3 separate regions of the Homo sapiens genome follow, and all the other regions are linked to region 1. Evidence: promoter capture Hi-C in 16 types of primary human blood cells and fetal thymus (Javierre and others, 2016). All regions are on one chromosome and are shown on one strand. The core of a region is centred on a gene start or on the middle of the fragment in contact, and the rest is flanking DNA. Distances in the headings are between cores, read along the strand shown.

Region 1 (4,591 bases), core at 897-3,396:
CTCTTTATTTATTTACTTATTTTGAGATGGAGTCTCACTCTGTCACCCAGGCTGGAGTGCAGTGGGACGATCTGAGCTCGCTGCAACTTCTGCCCCTCCTCCCTCCAGGTTCAAGCAATTCTCCTGCCTCAGCCTCCCAAGTAGCTAGGATTACAGGCACACGCCACCTTGCCCGGCTAATTTTTGTATTTTTAGTACAGACAGGGTTTTGCCATGTTGGCCAGGCTGGTCTCAAATTCCTGACCTCAGGTGATCCACCTGCCTTGGCCTCCCAAAGTGCTGGGATTACAGGCATGAACCACCACACCTGGTCTTGTTGAGGATTCTTGCATCTATGTTCATCAGGGATACTGGCCTATAGATTTTTTTTCTTGTGTCCATATCTAGTTTTGGTATCAGGGTAATGCTGCCCTCACAGGATGAGTTTGAGAACTGGTATGAGTTCTTCTTTAACTGTTCAGTAGAATTCAGCAGTGAAGCCATCAGGGCCTGGACTTTTCTTTGATGGGAGACTCTATATTACTGATTTAATCTCATTACTCATAGTTGGTCTTTTCAGGTTTTCTATTTCTTCTTGGTCCAATTTTGGTAAGTTGTATCTGTTCAGGAATTTATCCATTTCCATTTGGTTTCCAATTTGTTGGCATATAGTTGTTCATAATAGTCTCTAATGATCCTTTGTATTTCTGTGGTATCGGTTTAATGTCTTCTAGGCCCCTGCTGCTTTCAACACCCTGAAGGGTACAAAAAAAAAAAAATTAAGGTCTTTCCTTCAATGATTTTATTCTTAATTAAGGAGAACAATCACATGAAGAAAATAATAAGTAAATGATAAACTATGTTGTTCTGATTTTAAGAATGACAGTTTTAAAGGGAGTGATCACTATCAGCTAGAAGGATTAAGAAAAACATAAGGAAAGAGGTGAAAAATAAAGATCCATAGATATAATGAGCCCAGATAATTGATTAGTCTGGATTCCCTGGAACAATCCCAGCTGGAAATGTTTTGTATCATTACCTTCATGGGACGCACTGGAGTTTCAAAATTTAACAGTGACTAGTATAATAATTAAGGACACAATTATTCCAAAGACTTGGAACACAAAATTACTCCAAAGACTTGGAACACAAAAGGTTATCCAATTTAAACAAAAGCAACCTTGCAGATTTTATTCCTACCTTAAAGTAGTTTGCTGAGCACTTACAGTAATGTTCCAGGCACGGCAAGGAGCGACCTGCGTTAGCCAGGCAGAATGCCCGCCTTCACTGAGCTTATTTCTTTCATGGTTTTTTTTTTTTTTTTTGAGACGGAGTCTCGCTCTCTCGCCCAGAAAATGGCGTGATCTCGGCCCACTGCAACCTCCGCCTCCGCCCCCGACCCCGGGGTTCAAGCGATTCTCCTGCCTCAGCCTCCCGAGTAGCTGGGATTGCAGGAGCCCGCCCAGCCACCCAAGCAGCTGGGATTGCAGGCGCCCGCCCCCATGCCCGGCTAATTTTTGTATTTTTTTTTTTTTTTTTAGTAGAAACGGGGTTTCACCACGCTGGCCAGGCTGGTCTCAAACTCCTGACCCCAAGTGATTCGCCCACCTCGGCCTCCCAAAGTGCTGGGATTACAGTCACCACGCCCGGCCAGTTTATTTCTTTCAAGAGACACTGGCGTTCAGACTATCTGAATCAATCCGGTAACTACGCCCACTGAACACCTACTACATGCCAGGTATTGAACTAAGCCGCCCTTCATATGCCATCTCATGTAATTATCTCAACAACCCTACCAAGTTAGCAGCAAGGTTTCCAGTTCTGCCTTCGAAGGGAACCTCCTCTCACCGGAGATCCCTATGACAGACCCTGCGAAATATTTTGCTGCATCAGAATGCTACAGGCCGTCAACTCCCTAACATGCGCAAAAGCGGGCAGCCGATTATCCAGGGTAGTGGATTATCCAGGAGAGTGGATTATCCAGAGTAGCAGGTCTGGCGCGATGCCCGCCCGGCTCAGCCCATCTCCCTAGCAACGAAACCCTTCCGCGCCGCGAGGTTGCTGAGCCCCGCCCCCTCCATTGGCGCGCCCTCGCCATCCCCCGCCCTGGCACGCGCTCTGCGCATGCGTACGCTCGCTGGCCCCGCCCCCTAGCGCCGCGGTCGGAGCCATTTCGCCGATTCCTCCATGCGAGTTGCTGTGCGTTTCTCTGTTGTCTCGGTAGAAGGCCAGAGTCACACACGGTCCTAAGAGCTGGGCACCAGGAAGCGAAGGCTGGTAAGGGAGAGACGTTCCGGCTACCATGCGGGGCGGCGGGGTCGCGGGCGGGCGCCGTGGACCATGGCTCCGCAGCCGGCTTTGTTGCGAAGCGCGGGCGGCGGCGGCGGCTGGGGGTGGGGGAAGGGACGAGCCGCCCGCGGGTCCCCGGATTGCGGGTTGCGTGCGCGCCTCGCCGCGATGCGCTTGCGCCGTCCGGGCAGCCTGTGGCCCCCTCCCCTCTCCTCCGCCCAGCGTTTCCCGCTGCTGCCTCTAGCAGGCAAAGCGCGCTTCCTCCTCTGGCCTGCGTACGCCGGGGCACCGCGGCGGCTGAGGGAAGGGGGTGCTTCGCCTGTGGTGGTTGCCGCCGGGGCGCCACTGGCCTAGGGCTCTTCATTCATTCAAGCCACGAATAACTGGCGCCGTCGTGCAGGCCTTGTGGGTAGAGGAAAAAAAATTGAAGAATGTAAAGGGAGAGCGCCTTTGGCTAGTATAGCGAGGTAAGGCGTCTCGAAGGAGGGAGGCTTTGAGCTGATAACCTCGGCCAACGCGAAGGAAAAGCAGAGCCTGCAGAAGCGGAAGGGATTAGTTATCGCTTAAGGGCAGAAACTGGGCGGGAGCTGAAAGCAGGCCATGTGACTGGAGTGTGGCGAGAAGGCCTTCAAAGGAGAATGGGTTTTAGGGTGGCAAGAGTGGAAACAAAAACCGTGTAGGACAATATTTCACTAGCCCGGGTGTGCAGTAGTGGTGGCAGGAGAGATGGGGAGAAACGAATGGATAGGGGACGTATTTTGAAGCAGAAATGCGTAGTGGTGGAAGGTAGTAGATCTGGAGTCAGGCTACGTTTTCTGGAATTCTTGCGCCTTTTTTTTTTTTTTTTTTTTTGCAAGAGTCTCGCTCTGTCGCCAGACTGGAGTGCAGTGGCGCGATGGCGGCTCACAGCAACGTCGGTCTCCCGGGTTCAAGTGATTCTCCTGCCTCAGCCTCCGGAGTAGCTGGGACTACAGGCGCGCGCCACCACGCCCAGCTAATTTTTGTATTTTTAGTAGAGACGGGGTTTCATCATGTTGGCCAGGATGGTCTCGATCTCTCGACCTCGTGATCCGCCTGCCTTGGCCTACCAAAGTGCTGGGATTACAGGCGTGAGCCTCCGCGCCCGCCCGAATTCTTGCTCTTATAATTAGGAGCTCTGTCTTCCTGAAGCAAGATATTCTTTGTCTCAGTTTCCCCTTCTCTAAAGGGATAGTGATCTTACCTGTACAAGGTTACTAAGGATTAAGTAAAATAGTTCCATTTAGATGATCTATTATGGATATTGTTTGACACACATTAAGGGTTCTACAAGGGATAGCTATGGAGAATCTTAAGGGAGTGGACGACTCTCAACTTGTGCCAGGAGTAACTTGGTGGATGTCGTACCGTTTATGGAAACCGAAATGTAGGGGTAGGGTGTTGGAACAGATTTGAGGGGAAATTTAAAATTCTGTTTTGACTGAGATGCCAAGTTAGCATGCAAATGGGTGAGTTAGTGCCACAGTTGGATGAACTTAATTTTGGACTTTAAAGAGAAACGACGGGCGGGCGCGGTGGCTGACGCCTGTAATCCAGCACTTCGGGAGGTTGAGGCGGGCCGATCAAGAGGTCAGGAGATCAAGACCATCCTGGCCAACACGGTGAAACCCCGTGTCTACTAAAAATACAAAAAATTAGCTGGGCGTGGTGGCGGGCGCCTGTTGTCCCAGCTACTCGGGAGGCTGAGGCAGGAGAATCGCTTGAACCTGGGAGGCGGAGGTTGCAGTGAGCCAAGATCTCGCCCCTGCACTCCAGCCTGAGCGACAGAACGAGACTCCGTCTCAAAAAAAAAAAGAGAGAAAAGACTAAAGTTTAAATATATGTATTTGGGCATCGATAGCATGTAGTTGGTATTGAACATTATGGGGTTGTAAGAGACTAGGGAGACAGGAGTTTGATAGTATAGTCCTTCGTATTTCATATTACTCATTCACCATGAGGGCTTGTTGTTTAATTATTCACGAGGTGGAATTTCCAGATAAACATTTTCAGCTTTCCACGGCTTTTTTGTTAATAGGACATTCCCTTCGCCAAATGGATGACCAGAGTTAGACTGTGGCCACTCAGACGTAACAAATTTATGCTAGGGGTGCAGTTTGATGACGTTAGACTTAGGTGCTAACAAAATGCATCAAACGTGAAACGTGAAGCAGACGGTTTAATGCTGGTAATGGGATTTCTTCTCACAGCAAACTAAATTCATAGCATATTTTATTTTCTCTGGTTATAAATGTGGTCTCATATCTTGCTTACAGTTTAGACTCAGCATTTAGACTGATAGGCT
Region 2 (4,591 bases), core at 955-3,454, 3.5 Mb after region 1:
ATTCCATTTTTGTAAAGTAAGAGCTAAATCTAAAACACTCAAATTCAAATCAGTCTTCATGACAAAGATAAATTAAGGATAAAATATTACTAATATTTTAAATTCAAAGTAAAATAATTAAACAATAAAATTAACCCATACTCATTTTTTAGATAGTATTTTCAATATAACATATAATTGCTATTTCTGATTCTATTTTAGCCTAGCTACAGCATATGGAAGGAGGACTCTCACTGTTTTATGGGGCCAAGGACAGATTAAAAAATGACATCATTTTGTGAAATAACAGCTTCGTAAGTGCTTTAGTATTTTGTAAAAAAGACATTTTAATGGTCATATATACCTCTTTTAATTTGGTCAACAGATCCTCCACATGCTTTTGAAGATGTTCATTTGATGTTTTTAAGCCATTCATTTGTTCTTCCAGTCTAGAAACCTAAAAACAAAAAATAGAGCAGGGGGAAAGGATGTCATATTAACTGAAATTACTCTGACATGAGGTTTATGCTGCTAAGGAAAAGCTAAGTAACTCCCCCTCCCCACCTGAAAAAGCAATTAAAATATGCATATTTAAGAAAACTAAGAGTAACTGCTCACAGAACAATGTTTAGATTTAGCTCACAAAAACTTACCACCACTTCTTAAACAAACACATATTTTAGGAAAGATATATCGTAAGACAGTAGATACTAACCAGATTTGACAAAGAATCTTAAATTCTTTATGTAAACGCAATTGGTTGATTTTTTACGCCAAATGTAATGCATTATTCACATTTAACCACTCATCTTACAACTAATCAGGTACACACTACTGAATACATATTTAATAAACTGACATACAAATGTAAGTTATACTCAACATGAAGAAAAACACAATTTTACTAACTTACCTCTTCTTTTTTATTTTCAAGATTACATTTAAGCTCTAGAATCTCATTCCCTTTTTCTCTTCCAAGAGCCAGAAGTTCATCAGTTTTGGTTTTCAACTCTGTATTCAGCCATGTATTCTGACTATGTAGCAATTCCTTTTCTTGCTCCAAGCGTTTTTCTCGATACTAAAGAAATCCAAGAAAATAACACGTACAGTTAAAGATGATATATGATTATTCAAAAGATTTTGTCTGTAGCTAAGGGACACAAGCAGAATTTTATTTCAAAACAGAAATTAAGTATTTGCATAGATTCTTAACTAGAAAACATTAAGAACTGTAACAAACTTAAATTTCAAACAAGCAAAACAGATGAACTAGAATTGTCCTAATGCTTAATTTTCTGACATTAAAAACAAAACAAAATGCAGCTTTTAATTACTTTATTGCCTATATTTGAAATTTAATTTAGGTGAGTTTTAATAAAAAGCTATAGTTTATGCATTAGGAATCATCTGGTACTTGCCTTAACAGAAACATCAGAAGCTTGAAGTTCATCCAATTTTAACTGAAGTTCACCCTTTGTTGTATTGCTTTCTTTAAGTTTTTCATTCAGACGTTTAACATCCTCTAGAATGGTGAAGAGAATTAAAAAATAATAACTAATTAACACTCAGGGGAACCAAATATCAAAAATATATTTCTAGGAATATAAACCTTTAATACAAAGTATGCACAGCTGGCCCTTGAATAACACAGATTGGAACCATGCAGATTCACTTCCACTCATATTTTCTTCAATAAATATATTGGAATTTTTTCCCAAAAACTTACAATTTGAAAAACTCAGAGACCACAGACCAATCCAGGCAGCCCAGAAATGGGAACAAACTAAGAAAAAGCTACTGTAAGTGCATAATATGTACTAATATGTAGATATTAGTGTATTTTATCATTTACTACCATTAAAATATGCACAAATCCATGATACAAACTTAAAAAATTTATCAAAACTTATGCACACAAACACTACACAACCCTATCTGCAATCAAGAGAAATATAAGCAAATATAAATATGCTTTATTAAACCATAACTGCATAAAATTAACTGTAATACATACTGTATTACTGGAATACTTTCATAGCCACCTCCTGATACTACTGCAGTAAGCTCAAGTGTTTTGAGTGTCTGTATAGAATGCTGTGTGACTCTATTGTGAGCAGTTTCTCTCTTCAGTAAATTGCATAATGCAGAAAATAGTAATCTTTTGAAGTTTTTGCATATTTGTCATTGTGTTTAGTGCAATACCATAAAACTTGAAATCTTTTGAAGTTTTTGCATATTTGTCATTGTGTTTAGTACAATACCATAAACCTTGAATAACAACATGGGATCCATAAGAACTGCCACTAGTGATGTTGGAAGTACTTCTTCTAAGAAGCAGGGAAATATCACGACAATATTTTAAAGAGTTGAATTGCTTGATATGTACCACAGATTGAGGACTGCAGCGATGGTTACCCACCATTTCAAGACAAATGAATCCAGTATATGGACCGTTGTTTAAAAAAAAAAAAAGAAATAAAAAGAAAATTCGTAAAGCCATCACTGCAGCTACGCCAGCAAGCATAAAAAAGTGCATTTCTGCAAAATACCTTCCTATCTCGCATTGAAAATGCAGCTTTTATGGGGTGCAGGATTGCTATCACATACCTATAGACTCTAATATGATACGAGGTAAAGCAAAGTTATTATATGACAACTAAAAGCAAAAGGAAGGTGACAGATCTAAAGCTGGAGAATTTAATGCCAGTAAAGGATGGTTTGATAATTTTAGAAAGGTTTGACTTATAAAAATGTCAACAAAACTGAAGAAGCAGGTTCTGTCAACCAAGAAACAGCAGATGCTGCTAAGAAAATCATTGAGAAAGGTTATATGCCTGCACCAGGTTTTTAATGCAGATAGAAGTGTACTATTCTGGAAAAAACAATGCCACAAAAGATATTTATTAGTAAGAAAGAGAAGGGAGCACCAGGATTAGGGCAGGAAGGGATAGGCTAACTCTACCGTACTGAGCAAATGCAGTCAGGTTTATGATAAGGACTGCCCTTATTTATAAAGCTTTTAACCCCAGGGCCCAAAGGAAAAAGATAAACACCAGCTGCCTGTCTTCTGGTTACACAAGAAGAAGACCTGGACAATGACAGACCCCCTTCTCTGAATTGGTTCCACTCATGCTTTGTCCCTAAAGTCAGAAAGTACCTTGCTAGTAAAGGGGCTGCCCTTTTTTTTTTTTGGAGACAGTCTCGCTCTATCCCCCTAGCTGGAGTGTAGTGGCATTATCTTGGCTCACTGCAACCTCTGCCTCCCTGGTTCATGTGATTCTCATGACTCAGCCTCCTGAGTAGCTGGGATTACAGGCGCCTACCACCACGCCCAGCTAATTTTTGTATTTTTAGTAGAGATGGGGTTCTGCCATGTTGACCAGGCTAGTCTCGAACTCCTGACCTCAGGTGATCTACCTGCCTCGGCCTCCCAAAGTGCTGGGATTATAGGCATGAGCCACCGTACCTGGCCAAGGGGCTGCCTTTAAAGTTCTTTTGACTTTAGACACTGTCCCTGGCCACCCAGAACCCAGGAGTTCAACATGGAAGGTGTCAAAGCAGTCTACTTGCTCCCAAACATGTTTCTAATTCAGCCTTTAGATCAGGAGTCATAAGGACCTTTACGGCTCAATAGAGATGATACTTTGTGAAAAGAAAATGTCAACACTGTGGAAGAGAACCCCAACAGAGAAAATATCATGAAAGTTTTAAAGGATAACACACTGAAGAGGCCATCCCTTCTTTTTCATTACAGAAAAAGTTATGAAAGCCATCAAGGCTGAAATAATAAATTCCTGTTGGAGGAAACTCTCCAGATGTTGTGCATGATGTCACAAAATTTGTAACAGAGCCAATCAAAGAAATCATGAAAGAGATTGTGGATATGGCAAAAAAAGTGGGATGAAGGGTTTCAAGATACGGACCTTGGAGAAATCCAAGAGCTAATAGCCACCATATCAGATAAATTAACAGAAGATGACTGGATGGAGATGAGTGCTTCCAAACCAGTGCCAGACGATGTGGAAAAAGAATGTAGAACTAGCAGTGTCAGAAAACATATTGGTAACAGACTATCTGGTGGAAGGGTTCTGATTACCCAAGACTGCTTTTGATTTCTTTTATGACATGGATCCTTCTCTTACATGGGCACTGAAACTATAGCAAACGGTGGAAGGAAGATTGGTAATGTATAGAAACATTTTTAGAGAAATGAAAAAGCAAGTCAGACAGAAATTAGGCTGTATTTCGTAAAGTTACATTGAGTGTGCCTCCCTCTTCTGCCTCCCCTTCTACCTCTGCAACCTGACCCAGCAAGACCAACCCCTTTTCTTCAGCCTAGGTAATGTAAAGACAAGGAGGATGAAGATGGTTGTGATGATCCACTTCCATTTAATGTACAGTAAACGTATTTTCTCTTCCTTATGATTTTCTTAACATTTTTTTCTCTAGCTTACTTTATTGAAGGAGCACAGTATATAATACAGATCACAGACAAAACGTATGACAATCTACTGTGTATGTTATTGGTAGGGCTTCTAGTTAACAGCAGTAGTTAAGTTTTTGGGGAGTCAAAAGTTACACATAAATTTTCAACTGTGGGGGGAATCAGCAA
Region 3 (4,591 bases), core at 1,398-3,897, 3.4 Mb after region 1:
GTTATGAGTTTCCATGCTGTTTTTTTAAATATATTTTTCTCATCCTTAATCAGATAATTTTTTTAATATCTAAAAAAGAAAAGGAAAAGTATTAAAAAATTCAGATTACATATGAGAAAAAATAGCCCCAGTCCTGAGCTGGGGCAGAAGTTTTAGAACTGACGTGATTAGCCAGCTGTTCCTCCTAAGCTGGAAGGGTGGCCCTTGCAGGGTGTCGGATTGAACGTCTTGTAGATGGCGCGCCACCTGGTCAGGCCTTGGTGTGTGCTCACTTCCTTGTCCTGTACCCTTTGGTCCCATTTCTATCCCAAGGTAACTACCAGATTTAACATTTCCATTCATGACTGTTAATCCTGGACTATAAAAGGGGCGGGATTGTCCCCTTTACTCCAACCTGCCACCCTGGGGAGGAATTGCCTTCCTAGATCCAAGTCTCCGAGTGCTGATTCCTTCTTTCCTTCCTTAATCCTCCCTCACCGATCTTTCCTTTTTCTTCTGTTCTACAATTCCTTGTTGGTACTTTCCTTCTAAAGCTAAGAGTTCTGGAATTGGCTGCTTTTAGGCAAAATATACATTTCTACAGGTATTTTTCTGAGATTCTCCTTAGGGTTCCCCCATATAATTTCCATACTCCCACTGTCTTTGGTTTTAGTAGGATTTGGTCAATAACCTCACATAGGTTGGTCAGTCCGCCAGACTCCTAGGGCGAGCCCATCAGGTTGTTACAGCACGGTCAGCAACAGCTGCAAATAATTAGCACTCACAACTTCTATAAAGAAATCTTCCGAAGGAGGGAATGGGTTGGTGGGTTGCCAGTGGCAGGAAGCCTGGACTAGCCATTAGGTCACTCGATTAGTCTTTGATTCATAGGTTTGCTTCCTGTAAGAGGCTTGAAAAAATCAGTGTTGAGCCTAACTTTCCTTGATGCAATAAAGCAGAAAAGAGATGTCCAGGTGAAATTCTAGGAGCAAAGGGAGAGGGAGAGTGGCTCAAGTCAGAAGATAGAAATTGACCTTTTACTTAAAAGTTGTTGTGCTTTGTTGACTAATTTCCCATCAGTGAGTCACTCCGGCCATTAGATGTTATTCCAGTTTATAACAGCGCATCACTTATAAGAATCACCATCAAGGAAGGAAGAACTGGCTATAATCCATGAACAACAAATAGCCATCTTCATCTTTTTTCCCCTTGTAAACAGCTTTCCTATATTTTAAAACTTTCACTTGCTGTTAGAATTGTTTTCTTTATATTATGCCTAAATATTGCTTTATTCAATGACAAAGCAAAATATAAGCAAAAAACCAAATGCTATCTCTCCTGTCCTTAGATACCTCAACCCAGCATTCTAGAATTGCCTCATGGGACAGACCAAGAATCAGCCCAGACAGATTGCACCTGACAGAGGCCCTGGAGAGATGGCAGGGATCTGCCCCATAGGCCTCCGTGTCAGTTTCCCAGTCAGAGATGTTCTGTCAACTGTCAAACATTTTGATTACCTCCGGTTATTCCTTAATTTATTAGGGACACTTATACTTTCAGCCCATACCCTCCTTGTGACTGTCAGCCTCTGAAAGCAGCTCTGACAATATTCCTGTTTCTATATTTTACACATAAGATGTAATGTCATTATTTAGTATCCTTAGCGATAAAGGATTAGAGTCACCCATATGTAGTTTCTAGTTTTGCCCAGTGTCAATCATGACCCAATATGCATATAGCAAAAAGAATCTTCTTTTTAATTTCTATAACCACCATAACAAAGCCATTGAAATCAAAAGCTTTTGTAAATTTATAGGATTTACTAAAGATTGTGTAAAGAACAGGGAAAGGAGTTATATTTCACACCACACAGCACATATCTTAATAAATCTCCATTGCTGTTTACCTAAGTTCCCTCTTCAGGCTTACCATCATTCTATCCAAGATCCCTTCCTCCCTCTCTCTCCTTTCCTTCCAGCCCACCACTCCCTCCCTCTGCTTCCTGCTACCTTTCTTTATTGTGCAGAATCTCTGGGTGCTGGCCACCTTCTACTTAACTGAGAAATTATTAAAATCTTGTTTCACTAAAATCAGTCTTTCTCTTGAAAGGCAAGATGAGGGCAAAATGAATTGTTGCTTTCAAAAAAATAACATTTTATCTAGATCATTACATTGCGTAATACATAGTTTCTTTACTTTCCTGTGTTAAACTAATTTTTTAGATCCAAAAGCAGAACCACAAAGTAGTTCAATTGATTTCCAAAACACCTTAGACAATCCCAATTATAGTCTTACATCAATATAAATTACTCTACTTTTTTCCTTTCTGACATTCCTGCCTGCCTCTACCAGGTATAAGATAGTTGGTTATGTGCAAGCTGTGTCATCTATTTACATCACGACTTATTTTTTTTGGCCTTTCATTTATCTTCTCCTTAAGGCCTCCACATTCCTCTTCTGCAAGAAGCATGGAAGAGATAAAGGGTGTTGGGAAAAAAATTAGTTTTTGGCTACTCTCCTAAACTTTGACCTCCTGTGTTCTTCTGCTAGCATTCATATCTATAGCAATGTGCTTTAAGATTAAAAAAACAAACTAGAGGGCCAGGTGCGGTGAACCCACGCCTGTGATCCCAGCACTTTGGGAGGCCTAGACGGGCGAATCACGAGGTCTCCTGACCATCCCGGATAACACGGTGAAACCCTGTCTCTACTAAAAATACAAAAAATTAGCCGGGCGTGGTGGCGGGCGCCTGTAGTCCCAGCTACTCGGGAGGCTGAGGCAGGAGAATGGCTTGAACCCGGGAGGCGGAGCTTGCAGTGAGCCGAGATGGCGCCACTGCTCTCCAGCCTGGGAGACAGAGCGAGACTCTGTCTCGAAAAAAAAAAAAAAAAACAGAAAAAACGATCAAAGTAAAGAGCAGTTCCTGTTTTCAGTGCTTTGGCGGGCTGATCATAACTTTTCTCAGTTCTGAGAAGTCATTTGTTTCCCAGCACTGTTTCTTACCTTGCTGGGTTTTTCAGCCTACACAGGCCACATCCATCAGTTCAGTCTCGTGCCTATTAATGCATGCTGTCCCAAAGAAGAAGCAGTATGTGTCTCTAAGCACCAAATTCATTTTTAGGAGAAAAAGAATTTTTAATGGCAATCCTACAGTTTCATTAAATTCAATCTGATATATTATCAAACACTTATGTGCCAAGTCCTCTACTAAGTGCTGGGGATACAACATATCCTTGCCTTTGATGAATTTACAATCTAAACTGCAAGATAATTTGTTGATATTTATCAAGAATTATGAAGATGTTCCCACTCCTAAGAATTTATTTTAAAGGTAAAATACAATACAAGCTGCATGAAAAAAAGGAATTTATCCTTATTTTTATTTTGTTTATGTTTGTTTTGCTTTAATCAGAATAAATGTCTGGCACCTAGCTGATACTTAATAAATGTTGATGGTTTGTGGAGGTGTTGTCCAAAGCCTGGTATAGGACTCCTCAAGGCATAGCTGTGACTCTGAGTTTGCCTCTGTAAAGAACAAAGCTTTCTACTATATTACTCTGAGGAGGACTTGGAGGAACAAAGGGTCTGGTCTCTATCAGTGCCCCTCCCATAAATATTTTCTTTGCACAAACAGCAGAATACAAATAAAAGGATAAATAGGTAGCCGTTTATGCTGTGTCTGCTCTCCATCCCCTCAAGAATCTTGAGGTCTAAGTTACACATACAATGAACCCAAGTGCTTGTCAATACCAAAGCCCTTTTCCCCAGTCCAAGGGACAGGCAGAGCAAGTGCTAATATTAGCAGTGACATTTATTCGTTAATTCATTCAAGAACATTTATTGAGCTACCAGAGATATAGAGATACTCTGGAGTCTTGTTTCATAAGCAATCAACCAAAAGAAAGGAGGAAATGTTGAATTTTAATCTTCTGATTGAGTTTTCTGTATCAAGCTTAACATAAGCTCCATGGAGACAATTGTTGCAAATGTCCTGCTTCTTAATCCTTTTGATAGAAATTAGCTGCCATCACGGGGAAAGGGATTTTAAATGGATTATTATGCAATACTATGCAATCAGCCAATACTGCATTATACTCAATATCTTTAAAGAGCCTGGTGTTCCTGCTTTGGAATGACTCAATGAAATGTCTTCTACAATGTCTCTTGGGATACTTCCCTCTTATCCCACCTATCTATGGGTCCTTCAACCACACCCAGGCTTTGCTCCCACTCTCTGAATTTCCCAATTATGAAGTATTTGTCATACTGAGTTATAGCACCCCAATTCACTTTCACTCACTCATGTTGGAAATTACTCATGTTGTTGGCTACTGGAAAATAAGTCAGTAATGTTCCTGTCTGAGCTGTCACATAGTATGCTTCCTTGACATCTGGAACCCAAGTGATGCGGACTTGAATGATCACAATACTGCAGCAATTTGGATTAGAAATCAGACATATGATGGCAAAGTGGCCGTTAGAAGAAAGACAGTAAACCTAAGTTTATCACGTATGAGAAGAAGCCATGCTAGCTGTGAAAAAGCTACAAAATGTAATCATTCTGAAATCTTAAGAAGCTTACAGCATAGTGAGAAAGATGGATATTGATAA

The links. The method cuts DNA at HindIII sites, captures the fragments that hold promoters and counts their contacts. A CHiCAGO score of 5 or more calls a contact.
Region 2: a fragment that was not itself captured here is called in contact with the fragment with the promoter of DHX9 in region 1 in 10 of 17 cell types (erythroblasts, total CD4 T cells, fetal thymus and 7 more); the score reaches 12.5 in erythroblasts.
Region 3: a fragment that was not itself captured here is called in contact with the fragment with the promoter of DHX9 in region 1 in 1 of 17 cell types (total CD4 T cells); the score reaches 5.6 in total CD4 T cells.

Annotation. Positions count from the first base shown.
Region 1 is chr1:182,837,201-182,841,791 of GRCh38, forward strand. It overlaps DHX9 (DExH-box helicase 9), which reads left to right and starts at 2,147. Exons shown (of 28, transcript NM_001357.5): 1 at 2,147-2,256. It overlaps DHX9-AS1 (DHX9 antisense RNA 1), which reads right to left and starts at 2,391. Exons shown (of 2, transcript NR_148933.1): 1 at 2,112-2,391; 2 at 1-734. RefSeq lists an enhancer at 1,772-2,613 and a silencer at 2,037-2,466. The HindIII fragment of the contact is 6,331 bases long and covers 1-4,591 here.
Region 2 is chr1:186,361,945-186,366,535 of GRCh38, forward strand. TPR (translocated promoter region, nuclear basket protein) reads right to left here. Exons shown (of 51, transcript NM_003292.3): 5 at 1,398-1,501; 6 at 893-1,057; 7 at 344-436. Among named protein-coding and RNA genes, the nearest start is that of TPR, 11 kb to the right of the region's middle. The HindIII fragment of the contact is 1,578 bases long and covers 1,416-2,993 here.
Region 3 is chr1:186,286,041-186,290,631 of GRCh38, forward strand. No RefSeq gene overlaps it. Among named protein-coding and RNA genes, the nearest start is that of PRG4, 7.9 kb to the right of the region's middle. The HindIII fragment of the contact is 1,742 bases long and covers 1,777-3,518 here.